4 separate regions of the Homo sapiens genome follow, and all the other regions are linked to region 3. Evidence: promoter capture Hi-C in 16 types of primary human blood cells and fetal thymus (Javierre and others, 2016). All regions are on one chromosome and are shown on one strand. The core of a region is centred on a gene start or on the middle of the fragment in contact, and the rest is flanking DNA. Distances in the headings are between cores, read along the strand shown.

Region 1 (3,086 bases), core at 159-2,658, 570 kb before region 3:
TATCTCTGTATTCTTCACAGGACTTAGGGGAGGATGCTAATATTATCACCAGTTTACATATGAAGAAGTTGAGGCTTAAAGATTTTTTTTTAAAGCAGCCCAAAATCTCAAAGCATATAAGTTATGGGGCCCGACTCCAGAATCTACTGTTAACCATCTTTTCATGACAAGAAATAGAAACAAAACTCAAACTAACTCAGAAAAAAGATGGATGTCATTGGGAGGAATACTAGGGCATCTGACAAGACTCAGAGATGCATTTGGACATTAGGGACAGCTGCAACCAGGGTCTGGAATGCTATTCTTTTCTTTTTTTATTTTGTATTTTTTGAGATGGAGTCTCACTCTGTTGCCCAGGCTAGAATGCAGTGGCACGATTTCAGCTCACTGCAACCTCTGCCTCCTGGTTTCACGCAATTCTCCTGCCTCAGCACCCCGGGTAGCTGGGGTTACAAGTGGCCGCCATCATGCCCAGCCAATTTTTGTATTTTAGTAGAGACAGGGTTTTACCATGTTGGCCAGGCTGGTCTCGAACTCCTGACCCCAAGCGATCCACCACCTCAGCTTCCCAAAGTGCTGGGATTACAGGCGTGAGCCACCGCGCCCAGCCTGGAATGCTATTCTTTTTCTCTGTCTCTTATTTCTCCTTCTCTATGCCTTTTAGCTTTATTCTCTTCTTCTGAAGCTTAGCTTTTTTCACTTGGCAGGAATACAGATGATTAAAGCTGGTGACCTCCTATCTTATGGAGTCAAGCAGCAGGAAGGATTGGTTCTTTTCCCTTAGTTTTAGTTCAAAAAGTCCAATGATGGGCTTAGTTTGAGTTGGGGCCTCCCTTGTTTTCCCCAACCCCTCTTTTCCAGATCAGTCATCTATGGCTAAACAGTCTGAGAAAAATTATTGGCTTAGCTTGGATTAATCATGAGCAAGATCATATAGCACAAACACGGCCTTGGGGGCCATCCCTGTGTCCCGGACAATCCTGGAGAAAGAGATAACACTTTAAATTGAACATCCATCCCCGAGTGGATGCTTAAAAATGCAATAATGAGGAACACAGGTTACTTTAAACGTAAAATATTTAAGTGAGAAATGCATAGCTGTATAACTGAGTTGTATGGGGATTCCCCAGAAATCAGACAGTCTGTGCTTTCAGAAAATGTACCCAGATTTTTTGTTCTTAGGCACAATTCTGGAGAGGCATTCTAAGCTATTGTTTGGTACTTCTTATTTATTTTTTAAACAGTAGATTTCCTTCATGATGATATAGTTCTGAAAATAAGTGAGCCTGATGACAAGGTTGAAAGGATTTTTGTTTTCATAAGCTTCTTCATTTCAGTAATTTCAGAGACTGGGAGTCACACAGTCTGCAATGTTTAACAAGCCTTCCTATAGTATATAGAAGCTCCTTTTCATAAACATCCCTAAAGTCATCGTGCCGCAAGTTAAGCCTGTTTTCTTTGAGTTTGTTCTCAGAAGAAATGGGTATGAGCATAGAAGCTTCCCTTCATCAAACCACGTAGTTGCATCCTCAGTTCCTAGCATGTCCCCTCTGGGTTTATTGTCCAGTCAGCCCTTTTATTATCTCAGTTACTCTCTGTGAATCTCCTCTGCCATCTCCACGTACCCCTTTTTGTTGCCAAGCCCAGATCTAATTGGTCAGTCTTTTAGTGAAACCCCAGAGCAACAAAGACAATTCCTCACCCCACACCCTTCCCCAGGCATCCCGCACCACAGTGATTGTTTAAGCACAGGGCCACAGGCCAACTTGTTGCATTTGAATTCCACTATAACCAGCATTGTATCTGTATTCTAAAAAGTGTCAAGTCTCTACATTACAATCAAAGCATCAATCTCTAAACAGTGGGGGAGAAAATGTACCTCAAGGTTAAGAGAATCTAGGCTGGGAGTGGTGGCTCACACCTCTAATCCCAACACTTTGGGAGGCCAAGGCAGGTGGATCACTTGACCTCAGGAGTTTGAGACCAGCCTGGGAAACATGGCAAAACCCCATCTCTACAAAAAATACAAAAATTAGCTGGGCATAGTGGTGGGCGCCAGTAGTCCCAGTTACTCAGGAGACTGAGGTGGGAGGACCACCTGAGCCTGGAAGGTCAAGTTTACGGTGAGCCATGATCATGCCATTGCATCCCAGCCAGAGTGACAGAGACCCTATCTCAAAAAAAAAAAAAAAAAAAGAAAGTTAAAAGAGTCTAACAGCAAGTAGAACAAATGGAATTAATGATGACAGTTCGATATATTGTGCCCATCACAGTCAGCAGATCCAAAACAGCCACTAAGCACTAGATCCAGGAGTCCCCGGGCCTTTGCACCCACTGTTCCAAACACTACCAAGGATGCTGTTTTCCCAGACAGCCCATGGCACACTTGATGGGCCCATCCAGATCTTCTCACAGAAAGTGTTTCTCAGTGAGGCTTTCCTTGACCATCCTATTTAAAACTGTGACTTTCTGGTTCAGACCAGCCCACCCAAGTCCACCATCAGTTGTTCCCAATCCTCTTTTAAAGCTGTTTTATTTTTCCTGGCAGCACTTACTGGACATGGTCTATAGTTTTAGTTGTCTATCTGTAATTGTCTGTCTACCCTAGTAGAATGTAACTTCTGTATGTTTTGTTCACTGCTTTATTCCTCATCTCTTAGGAGCATGCCTGCCTACCACAGAGGGACCCTTAGTGAATAATCTTTTTTTTTTTTTTTTTTTTTTGAGGCAGAGTCTCACTCTGTCGCCCAGGCTGGAATGAAGTGTCGCGATCTCAGCTCCCTGCAAGCTCTGCCTCCCAGGTTCATGACATTCTCCTGCCTCAGCCTCCTGAGTAGCTGGGACTACAGGTGCCTGCCACCACGCCAGGCTAATTTTTTGTATTTTTAGTAGAGACAGGGTTTCACTGTGTTAGTTAGGATGGTCTCGATCTCCTGACCTCGTGATCCGCCCGCCTTGTCCTCCCAAAGTGCTGGGATTACAGGCATGAGCCACCGCGCCTGGCCCATGAATAATCTTTAAGTGAAGAAATCTATGAATGCAAGTAGAATTCTTTGTGGTGAGGAAGAGCACTTGAACATTTTTAT
Region 2 (2,869 bases), core at 221-2,720, 610 kb before region 3:
AAAAAAAAAAAAAAAAAAGGGAAAATGGTGACTGCAGTCCTGCAACTTCAAGGAACTGGATTCTGCCAACAGCCTGAATGAACTTGGAGGTGGATTTCATCCTACAGCCTCCAGAAGATAATTCAGCCCAGTCAACACCTTCAAGTCCATCCTGTGATACCATGAGCAGAAAACCCGCCACAATGTTCAAGCCTGCTGACCTATAGAACCATGAGAACTGTGAGCTAACAAATAAATGTAGTTATAAGCCACTGTTTGTGATGATTTGTTACAACGATAGAAAACTAATATATATGGTATGTGTATGTTTAACTTCATAAGAAACCTGCTCAATTGTTTCCAAAAGCAGCTACACCATTTTACACTTCTACCAGCAATGTAGGAGAGTTCCAGTTGTTCCACATTCTTGACAATACTTGATATTGTCAGTCTTTTTGATTTTTAACCATTCTCATATAGTGGCATTTCATTGTGGTTTTAATTTGCATTTCCCTAATGACTAATAGTGTTAGGCATCTTTTCATATGCTTATTTGCTATCCCTGTATATCTTTTTTTTTTTTTCTTCAGACAAGTCTTGCTCTGTTGCTCGGGCTGAAGTGCAGTGGCATGATCATAGCTCACTGTAACCTTGAACTCCCTGACTCAAGAGATCTTCCCATCTCAGCCTCCCTAGTAGCTGGGACTACCGCCGTGCACCACAAGGCCCAGCTAATTTTATTTTTTATATTTGTAGAGACGGAGCCTCACTATGTTGCCTAGGCTAGTCTCAAACTCCTGGGCTCAAGCAATCACCCTGACTTAGCCTCCCAAGGCACTGGGATTACAGGCATGAGCCACCATGCCTGTTCATTCTTTAGTAAAATGTCTGTCCAAATCTTTAGCCCACTTTTTAAATTGGATTATTTGTCTTATTATTTCAAAGCTCTGCTTGGCTGATGGTAAAGTTAATAAAAGACAGAACTGGCTGGGCGCAGTGGCTCACGTCTGTAATCCCAGTACTTTGGGAGGCCGAGGTGTGTAGATCACCTGAGGTCAGGAGTTTGAGACCAGCCTGGCCAACCTAGTGAAACCCCGTCTCTACCAAAATACAAAAATTAGCTGGGCATGATGGCATGCACCTGTAATCCTAGCTACTCCAGAGGCTGAGGCAGGAGAATTGCTTGAACCTGGGAGATGGAGGTTGCAGTGAGCTGAGATCACGCCACTGCACTCCAGCCTGGTCGATGGAGCGGGACTCTATCTCCAAAAAAAAAAAAGAAGAATAAGAAGAAGGCCGAACTGTAAGAAAGCTTGATTGCAGGAGGGAAACAGGGTAGAGCAGGCCTTTTTATGGGTGGGGGTGGAGAATGTCTGCCAACCCTCCATGGCTTACGGTTTGAATTTGAATGAGCCACATACAAGGGAAGAAGATAAAAAGCCTGGGGCTTGAGCAGGGCTGGAGGCCAGATAAGAGATGCCCAATCTGAAGCCAGAACCCCTGAAAAGCAACACAATGATTATACAAGGGAAAAATGTACCTACATAACACCATGTTACCTATCTCAGGCTTGGCTCTGGGTGAAGTATGGAGAAATGCTCAGAACTGCCCAACCATATGCTCCAACTCACAAGTGTGTGAACCTGAAATGTACACTTGCTACTGGGCTTGAAAGCTTTAAACATAAAATTTATTTTAAAGTGGTTTCATGTGGGAAGTGTCTCAATCTTCCTAATTCACCTACCTGGGCATTGCACTTTAACACAGAGTTCCCACAGGATAAAGCTTCCAGATACAAGAATTCACCATAAATAAAAACCACTAAATAAACAGGAAAATAAGACATGAGTAAGTGTCAGCTGAGACAAAAAGCTGCTGACTTAAACCTGCAAAGGCTGAATACTAGAGTGATCGGTATGGAATATTAAATAAGTGTGTTTGACATTTTGTAAAAATAATATAGTGGAATACAAGCATAACATGAAGCAAAACACCTAAAGTTGACAGATTAACTAGAAAAAGAAGCAAAAATTAGATGGCAGCTGATTCCTCAATAGCAACAGTGAAGCTGTAAGACAGCGGAATTATATTTCAAAGTATTACTTGAAAATAACCATGAGACTGGGCGTGGTGGCTCACATCTGTAATCCCAGCACTTTAGGAGGCCAAGGTAGGTGGATTGCTTGAGGCCAGGAGTTTGAGACCAGCCTGGGCAACATGGTGAAACCCCGTTTCTACAAAAAAAATACAAAAAATTAGCCAGGCATGTGGCAGCTCCAGTCCCAGCTACTCTGGAGGCTGAGGTGGGAGGATCACTTGAGCCCAAGAGATAGAGGCTTCAGTGAGCCATAATCACAACATTGCATTCATTCCAGCCTGGGCGATGAGTGAGACTCTGTCTCAAAAAAAAAAAAAAGAAAGAAAAAGAAAAAGAAATAACCGTGAACCCCAAAATCATGTCAAGTGAAACTGTATATCAGAACAAAACCAAAATGAAGACATTATCAAACCAAAGCTGAGATAATTCAGTAATAAAACACTCTATGAATCTTCCCAGGGATGTACTTTAAGGAAAAGGAGAATGATCCCAGAAGGACATTCTGAGAAGCAAAAAGGAATGATGAGAAATATAGGTAAAAACTGTGTACAAATATAAGCAATGTTGCATTTATAAAATATTAATAATAGTGGGCTGGGCACTTTGGGAGGCCAAGGTGAGAATTGCTTGAGCTCAGGAGTTCGAGACCCACTTGGCAACATAGCAAGACCTCTTCTCTATTAAAAATTTAAAAAATTAGCTGGGAGTGGGGGCATGTGCCTGTGGTCCCAACTACTCAAGAGGCTGAGGTGGGAGGATCACTTGAGCCCAGGAGGTGGAGGCTGCTATGAG
Region 3 (2,709 bases), core at 11-2,510:
ATCCCAATATTAAAAAAAAAAAAATCTCCAAGCCATTTGGTACTGTTGTTCCCTCCATCTAGAATTCTCTGGCCCATGAGGTCAGATCCTGTCCATTCCCCAACACCCAGCTCGAATGCCACGCCCTCACGGGTTGGAGGAGAAGGGGGTTAGTCAGGAGCAAGCCCTTCTCAGAAATCCTACAGTTCTTTGCCTGAACCTATTTTGGGACATTAATCTCTTCCTACCCGCTCTGTGAGTGATTTTTGTTGTTGTTTAAGAGTTATCTTTGCCCTTAAGAGTTATTTTTGTCCTCGTTTTACGGATGGGATTTGGGTTCCTCCAGGTAAGACCTACCCTCCTCCACCCCCAAATCCTCCTGGTACCTGGATGTAGCCTAAGAAGAATTGTCCTATGAACGAAGAATAAATTAAGATTGGGTTTGCAATTGACGCCAGCAGAAGCAGAAATGGGCTAGGTTGAGCACCAGGCAAGACAAGCTGACGATCAGGGTACACATCTTGAATCAGAAACCCTGGGCACAGACCAGCAGTCTGCGTGGTAACAGGCCCTCCGAGTGATTCTGATGACACTCGAGTTTGAGAACCAGGGCGGTCTAGCCAAAAGCCTGCAGTACACCCCTTCCCCTCTCTCGCAGCTTACGACCTTGACCCTGGGCTCTGGGGGCTTCCGCCGAGGAGGGAGGAGGGCACAGGCGGTCACAAAGGAGGGCGGGAGTGGAAGGGGTGAGCCTGGAAGAGAAAGTGCGAGGATGCGAGAAGAGGGATGGAGCGAAGGAAGAGGATCAGAAGGAGGAAAGGAAGGTAGCGGGGAGGGCACAGAAGTGGGGAGGGAGGGAGTGGAGGAGGGACTGGCACCCCGCACGGTGGCATCTTCCAGAAGGTCATGCGTCCGTCCCCACGTCTTTCCAGGGCCGGTTCTCCCCGGTGGGGCCCGGGGTCTTGGAGACCAGTCTGTGCAGCCTGCCCGGCACCAGCGTGAGCCCCGGGACCCCGGCCTGGCGTCCCCCACGCCCGCGCCCCCGCGCCAGTACCTGCTCCTGCTGCGGGGGGGCCTCCAGCACCGGCGCTGCCTTCCGCGCCGCCGTCCCCGCGGCCATGCCTGAGCCACTGTGCCTTCTCCAGGGCACAGCGCCTGCCGGGGAGGGTCCCGCAGAGTCCGCAGAAGGAGGCGCCGCGGGGCCTCGGGAGCCGAGGGTGAGAGCCGGATCTGCGGCGGCGGCGGAGCGGCGGCCCTGCCCGGGTTGTGCGGGGCGGGAGATGGGAGCCTCCCGGCACGCCCCGCCTCCGCCCCCTGCACGCTGGCCAGCGTCCTCCCCAGCAGCGGCCTCGAGGTCCCGGTCGCCAGCACCCCGGTTCCTTCAGAACCTCAGGCCTCCCATTCAGCCAGCCATTGTCGCCGATAAAGCGTCTTGAGCCCTACCGGGTGCGTGTGGCGGGAACCCCGGTTTTGTTACCGGGCGGCAGGACTGGAGGAGGGGTCAGAGGTGGGTAGGGAGAGAGAGGGGAGTAGAGGAGTGAGAAATGGCGGTGGGGGGGCGAGGGGTGCTGGGGAGGAAGAGAAGAGAGAGAGAGAGTTTCCTCTCCCTCAGAGGTGTTTATTAGGAGGCAGGAGTTCGGGTGGCTGTGCAGATACAGACTTTCCTCAGTTATCTGTGCTTCCTCCAAAGATGATGAAGGAGAGAAACTCCAATCTAGGGAGAGCGCAGACCATCTTGGCCCCTATGCTGCTCCAGGCCATGCAGGGCCCCTGCGACGCAAGCATCTTGCCTTTGCCCCTCTACCTCCAGGGTCTCCCCTCCCGCCTTTACAACTTAGGCCTAAGCCTGGCTTCAAGGTTGAGAACAAGCTGGAACGTTTAGGCAAGCCTTTAGAAATACCTGGGTGTTGATTTGGGGAAACAGAAAAGAGGAGCACAGAATTAGATGATGTGTCCTACGAAATACAGCTTACCCCTTTCCAGTTTGTGATGGCTCGTATTTGTCAACACCTACAAAGGAGGTGAACAGACCAAGATGGACATTTCTCTGCCATTGTGGAACGTAGAGCCTAACAGGGGATAGAGAAAAATAAGCATCTAAGTACAATTTATCACGGATGGTGCCTTGGTTTTCCAGCCTTAACTGGGCATCAGAATCCTATGGAGGAATGCTGAGTTTGTTAAAACTCAGAGTGCTGGCCAAGCACAGTGGCTGATGCCTTTAATCCCAGCACTTTGGGAGGACAGGGCGGGCGGATTGCTTGAACCTAGGAGTTTGAGACCAGCCTAGGCAACATGGTGAAGCCCCATCTCTATAAAATATACAAAAGTGAGCTGGGCGTGGTACACCTGTAGCCCCAGCTACTCAGGAGGTTGAGGCTGGAGGATCGCCGGAGCCCGGGAGGTTCAGGCTGCAGTAAGCCGTGATGGAACCACTGCACTTCTGCCTGGACAACAGAGCGAGACTCTATCAAAAAACAAAACAAAAATCTTCAGATTGCTGGAGTTGAGCCCTAGAGTTTTTAATATAGTAGGTCTAGGGTGGAGCCTGAGCATTTGTCTTTTGAACAAGTTTTCAGGTGCCGCTGGGGCTGTTACCTACATCTGAAGACTACCTTGTAGCATGATCAGAGTGTGTTGGAAAGAGTGTCTGAGATGGAGAGAACAGTGGATGCAAGGGCCGGAATGCTGGAGAAGGCATAATGAATTGGAGAAATAAAAATCATGGTT
Region 4 (3,177 bases), core at 403-2,902, 910 kb before region 3:
CACTGCAACCTCCGCCTCCCAGGTTCAAGCTGTTCTCCTGCCTCAGCCTCCCAAGTAGCTGGGACCACAGTCATGTGCCACCACGCCCGGCTAATTTTTGTATTTTCAGTGGTGACAGGGTTTCGCCATGTTGGCCAGGCTGGTCTTGAACTCTTGACCTCAGGTGATCCTCCTGCCCTGGTCCCCCAAAGTGCTGGGATTACAGGCATGAGCCACTGCACCCGGTGTCTTCTTTTTATTAAGATGGGGCAGCAACAGCCAGATGTGGAGAGGATAATCATCTTAGTATTATCTCAGTTTTTTACAGCAAAAATATTTCTGCTTCTAAATAAATGCATTTTATTTAGAAAATAAAAATAAAATTATTATTTTAAGAATTATTCTTTAAAATTATTCTTTTAAAAATTATTCTTTTAAAAAAGAGTATTACAATTTAATCTAAATAATTCAAATTACTCTGATTTGTAAACTGTGTGTAGTATTTGTAATGGATGCTGTTATAGTGCTGGTCAAAATTAATTAGAAATTTGCAACTCATACCATGAGTTTAAGAGCAGAAGCAAATCATACTAACTCCACATGGTTGAAACTTCTTGTGAATTAATTTATAGTTGGTAGATTTAAAGACATTGCCTCCTTAGACCTAGCTAAAATGGAATTTTTCCCGTGGAAGGCCCAAAACAAAAATCCACTAATGTAGGGTGTTTTTACCTATGAACACTTTCTCTAGCAAAATGTCCATACACAAACCTACCAAATTTTGCATTCAGATTTAGTGAGCTTAGGACCCCCTGAACCCTGCATAAGGGTTCTCAGGTTCCCTGAGTCTTAAGAACCCCCCACCTGTAAGTTTTAAGTGATATCACAGAGTATTCGTTCAGTAGAACTACCTTAGAGATCTCGGAGTCTCACTATGTTATTTTATAGTGGAGAAAAAAGGCCCTTGAAGTTGTTATGGAATTACCCAGTATTAATTAAATAGCTGTACCAAAAGCTTATGTGATTTGACTATAACTGCAGTGAGTGCAAGAGCGCTCTCTTTCATTACCTTATTTCCAGGGTTTGGTAACAGTTTTTGGCACTTACTACCAAAGAGGGCCTTTCAATAAATGGTGAATAAATGAATGTTTATTCACGTAAGAACGAGGACGAGGACTAGAAACCAGATTTTTAGACTTCTCTGAAAAACCAGGGAAGAGATATTGTAATCTTATATTTGATACATCTTGTGTCCTTAATTTCCCTGCATGTGGTATTTGGGTTTGTGAGTGTGAGTCTTTGTTGTTATAGTTTTATTTTTAATGATTTTGTTGAGCTAAGTCGTTTCTTCATTCCCTTGTACTTAGCAGTCTGCAATATCATACACTACGATCTGCAGAAGATTTGGGAAAGAAATACAAGAAATTGTTGGAACACTGTTCCTCCAACTCCTACCCCCACCAGTCACATGTTGTAACTTATTTATCTCCTTTTCCCAAGAGATTGGAATCACTGTTAGGTCAGAGATAGTGTGTATACACAGCACAAGTTTTGGTTCATAGTAGTTGCTCAATAAAAGAATGAATTCTAGTAAATAGACTTAAAAGTTGACATCTTTTCTCCTTCAGCCATCCTACCCTAGGGTTTTCATAGCATGTGATTACAGTTTGTCTCCATTCTATATAGGAATGCAATATAATGTTTCCACGTTACTCACACATAAAAAATGTAGTAGCTCGGTCAATGGCAATAATGATTTGATGGGGGCTTTTTCAGAGAGCCAGTTTTGACCAAATATGTATGTTGATCCCTTTTAGAGGTATGGCAAATGGTTTTCAAGGATTGTTTAACCCATACAAATCTAGATTCATTTTAATACTGTTTGCTTTTCAGCTATAGGCTATACTTTTAATACTATTACTACAAATTAAAATTTTAAGTATATTTTTAATATACACATACATTAAATTAATTCTGGATTGAGAGTCCTGTTGAAAATACAATTCATAATGAAAGGTTGAAGGCTTATCTGTCTTAATTATAATCTGAGAGTGTGCCCTTATTTATAAACAAAAGCTATTAGTAATATGTTTTTTTTTATTTCTTGGAGGAATTTTGTTGAAAATACAATTCATAATGAAAGGTTGAAGGCTTATCTGTCTTAAATTATAATCTGAGAGTGTGTCGTTATTTATAAACAAAAGCTATTAGGAATATGTCGTTTTTAAATTTTTTGAAGGAATTATTTTGAATGTAGATACATATAAATATTTCCACAGTGATAGTATGTGAATGAATTCAGTATTTCTTTGATGCAAGTTGGTACATGATTCAAGCTTTTGAACTACTTAGAATCTAGACTAAGTGGGTGAGGCCAAGAGGGTAGGCAGTGAACCACCAAAAGGTACTTGTAAGTTCTTGTTAAATATTGTTGAATGAATGGGAGAGAGGGAGAAAAGAAGATTGAAATTGTGTGTCTGTGGCAGGCAGGTGTGTGTGTGTATGGTGGTAAATGGAAAAAAATCAATAAAAATGTTAGATTTACTCTCTTGATTAGATGGAATAAGATACAGGAGGATATTGTGATCATAAAGTGAGTTATTAAACTTATTTAAAGTGAGAATCTAGAAGTGTTGCTTCCGAAGTGATGACAAGGTCTAAGAGTGGCAATTTGAGTTTAGGTTGCCTGAGTGGAATATGGGGTATGAAAGATGAAAGGCATTAGAAATGAAGATGTTAATGAAATCTGAGACTAAGGTGTAGATTGGGTTATACTAAGTCTAAAATGTCTTTTATCTGCCCTGACACTTTTTTGGCATGTTGTCCAACTACAGATTCCCAAACCTGATCCAGATTACCAATTTTACGCATTTCTGCAAGTATACGGAGGGAAAATAAAATCACATACCTTTACATATCATTATTACTATCCCCTGTCATTCTGCATCAGCATAGGTAGGCAGGCTCATGGAACAGATTTTAAGTGTTTTACAATTTATATTTTAAAATATAGCAACTTACTACCTACCATAACATTAGTGGACTGTATTTTTAATGATCGGTGAAAACTTTCAGCCTAGACAGCGAATATATCAGCTTGGAAGGAATTGCTAACTGAACATCTATAATCATTTCCTGAAAATGTGCCCACCAACATGCAAAAGGTTAGAAACACCCAGTTTAATGGTGAGAGTTAGG

Evidence for each region. The method cuts DNA at HindIII sites, captures the fragments that hold promoters and counts their contacts. A CHiCAGO score of 5 or more calls a contact.
Region 1: a contact is called between a fragment that was not itself captured here and the fragment with the promoter of RNF175 in region 3, in 1 of 17 cell types (fetal thymus). The highest score is 6.7, in fetal thymus.
Region 2: a contact is called between a fragment that was not itself captured here and the fragment with the promoter of RNF175 in region 3, in 8 of 17 cell types (M1 macrophages, M2 macrophages, fetal thymus and 5 more). The highest score is 8.1, in M1 macrophages.
Region 4: a fragment that was not itself captured here is called in contact with the fragment with the promoter of RNF175 in region 3 in 4 of 17 cell types (naive B cells, fetal thymus, total B cells and 1 more); the score reaches 7.3 in naive B cells.

Annotation. Positions count from the first base shown.
Region 1 is chr4:153,190,426-153,193,511 of GRCh38, forward strand. It overlaps a transcript of TRIM2 not described here. Among named protein-coding and RNA genes, the nearest start is that of TRIM2, 12 kb to the right of the region's middle. The HindIII fragment of the contact is 175 bases long and covers 1,322-1,496 here.
Region 2 is chr4:153,145,747-153,148,615 of GRCh38, forward strand. No RefSeq gene overlaps it. Among named protein-coding and RNA genes, the nearest start is that of TRIM2, 57 kb to the right of the region's middle. The HindIII fragment of the contact is 363 bases long and covers 1,290-1,652 here.
Region 3 is chr4:153,758,764-153,761,472 of GRCh38, forward strand. It overlaps RNF175 (ring finger protein 175), which reads right to left and starts at 1,261. Exons shown (of 9, transcript NM_173662.4): 1 at 1,034-1,261. The coding sequence starts at 1,099. The HindIII fragment of the contact is 8,763 bases long and covers 1-2,709 here.
Region 4 is chr4:152,847,206-152,850,382 of GRCh38, forward strand. The region is part of intron 2 of ARFIP1 (ARF interacting protein 1); the gene reads left to right. Among named protein-coding and RNA genes, the nearest start is that of ARFIP1, 69 kb to the left of the region's middle. RefSeq lists an enhancer at 1-500. The HindIII fragment of the contact is 1,321 bases long and covers 993-2,313 here.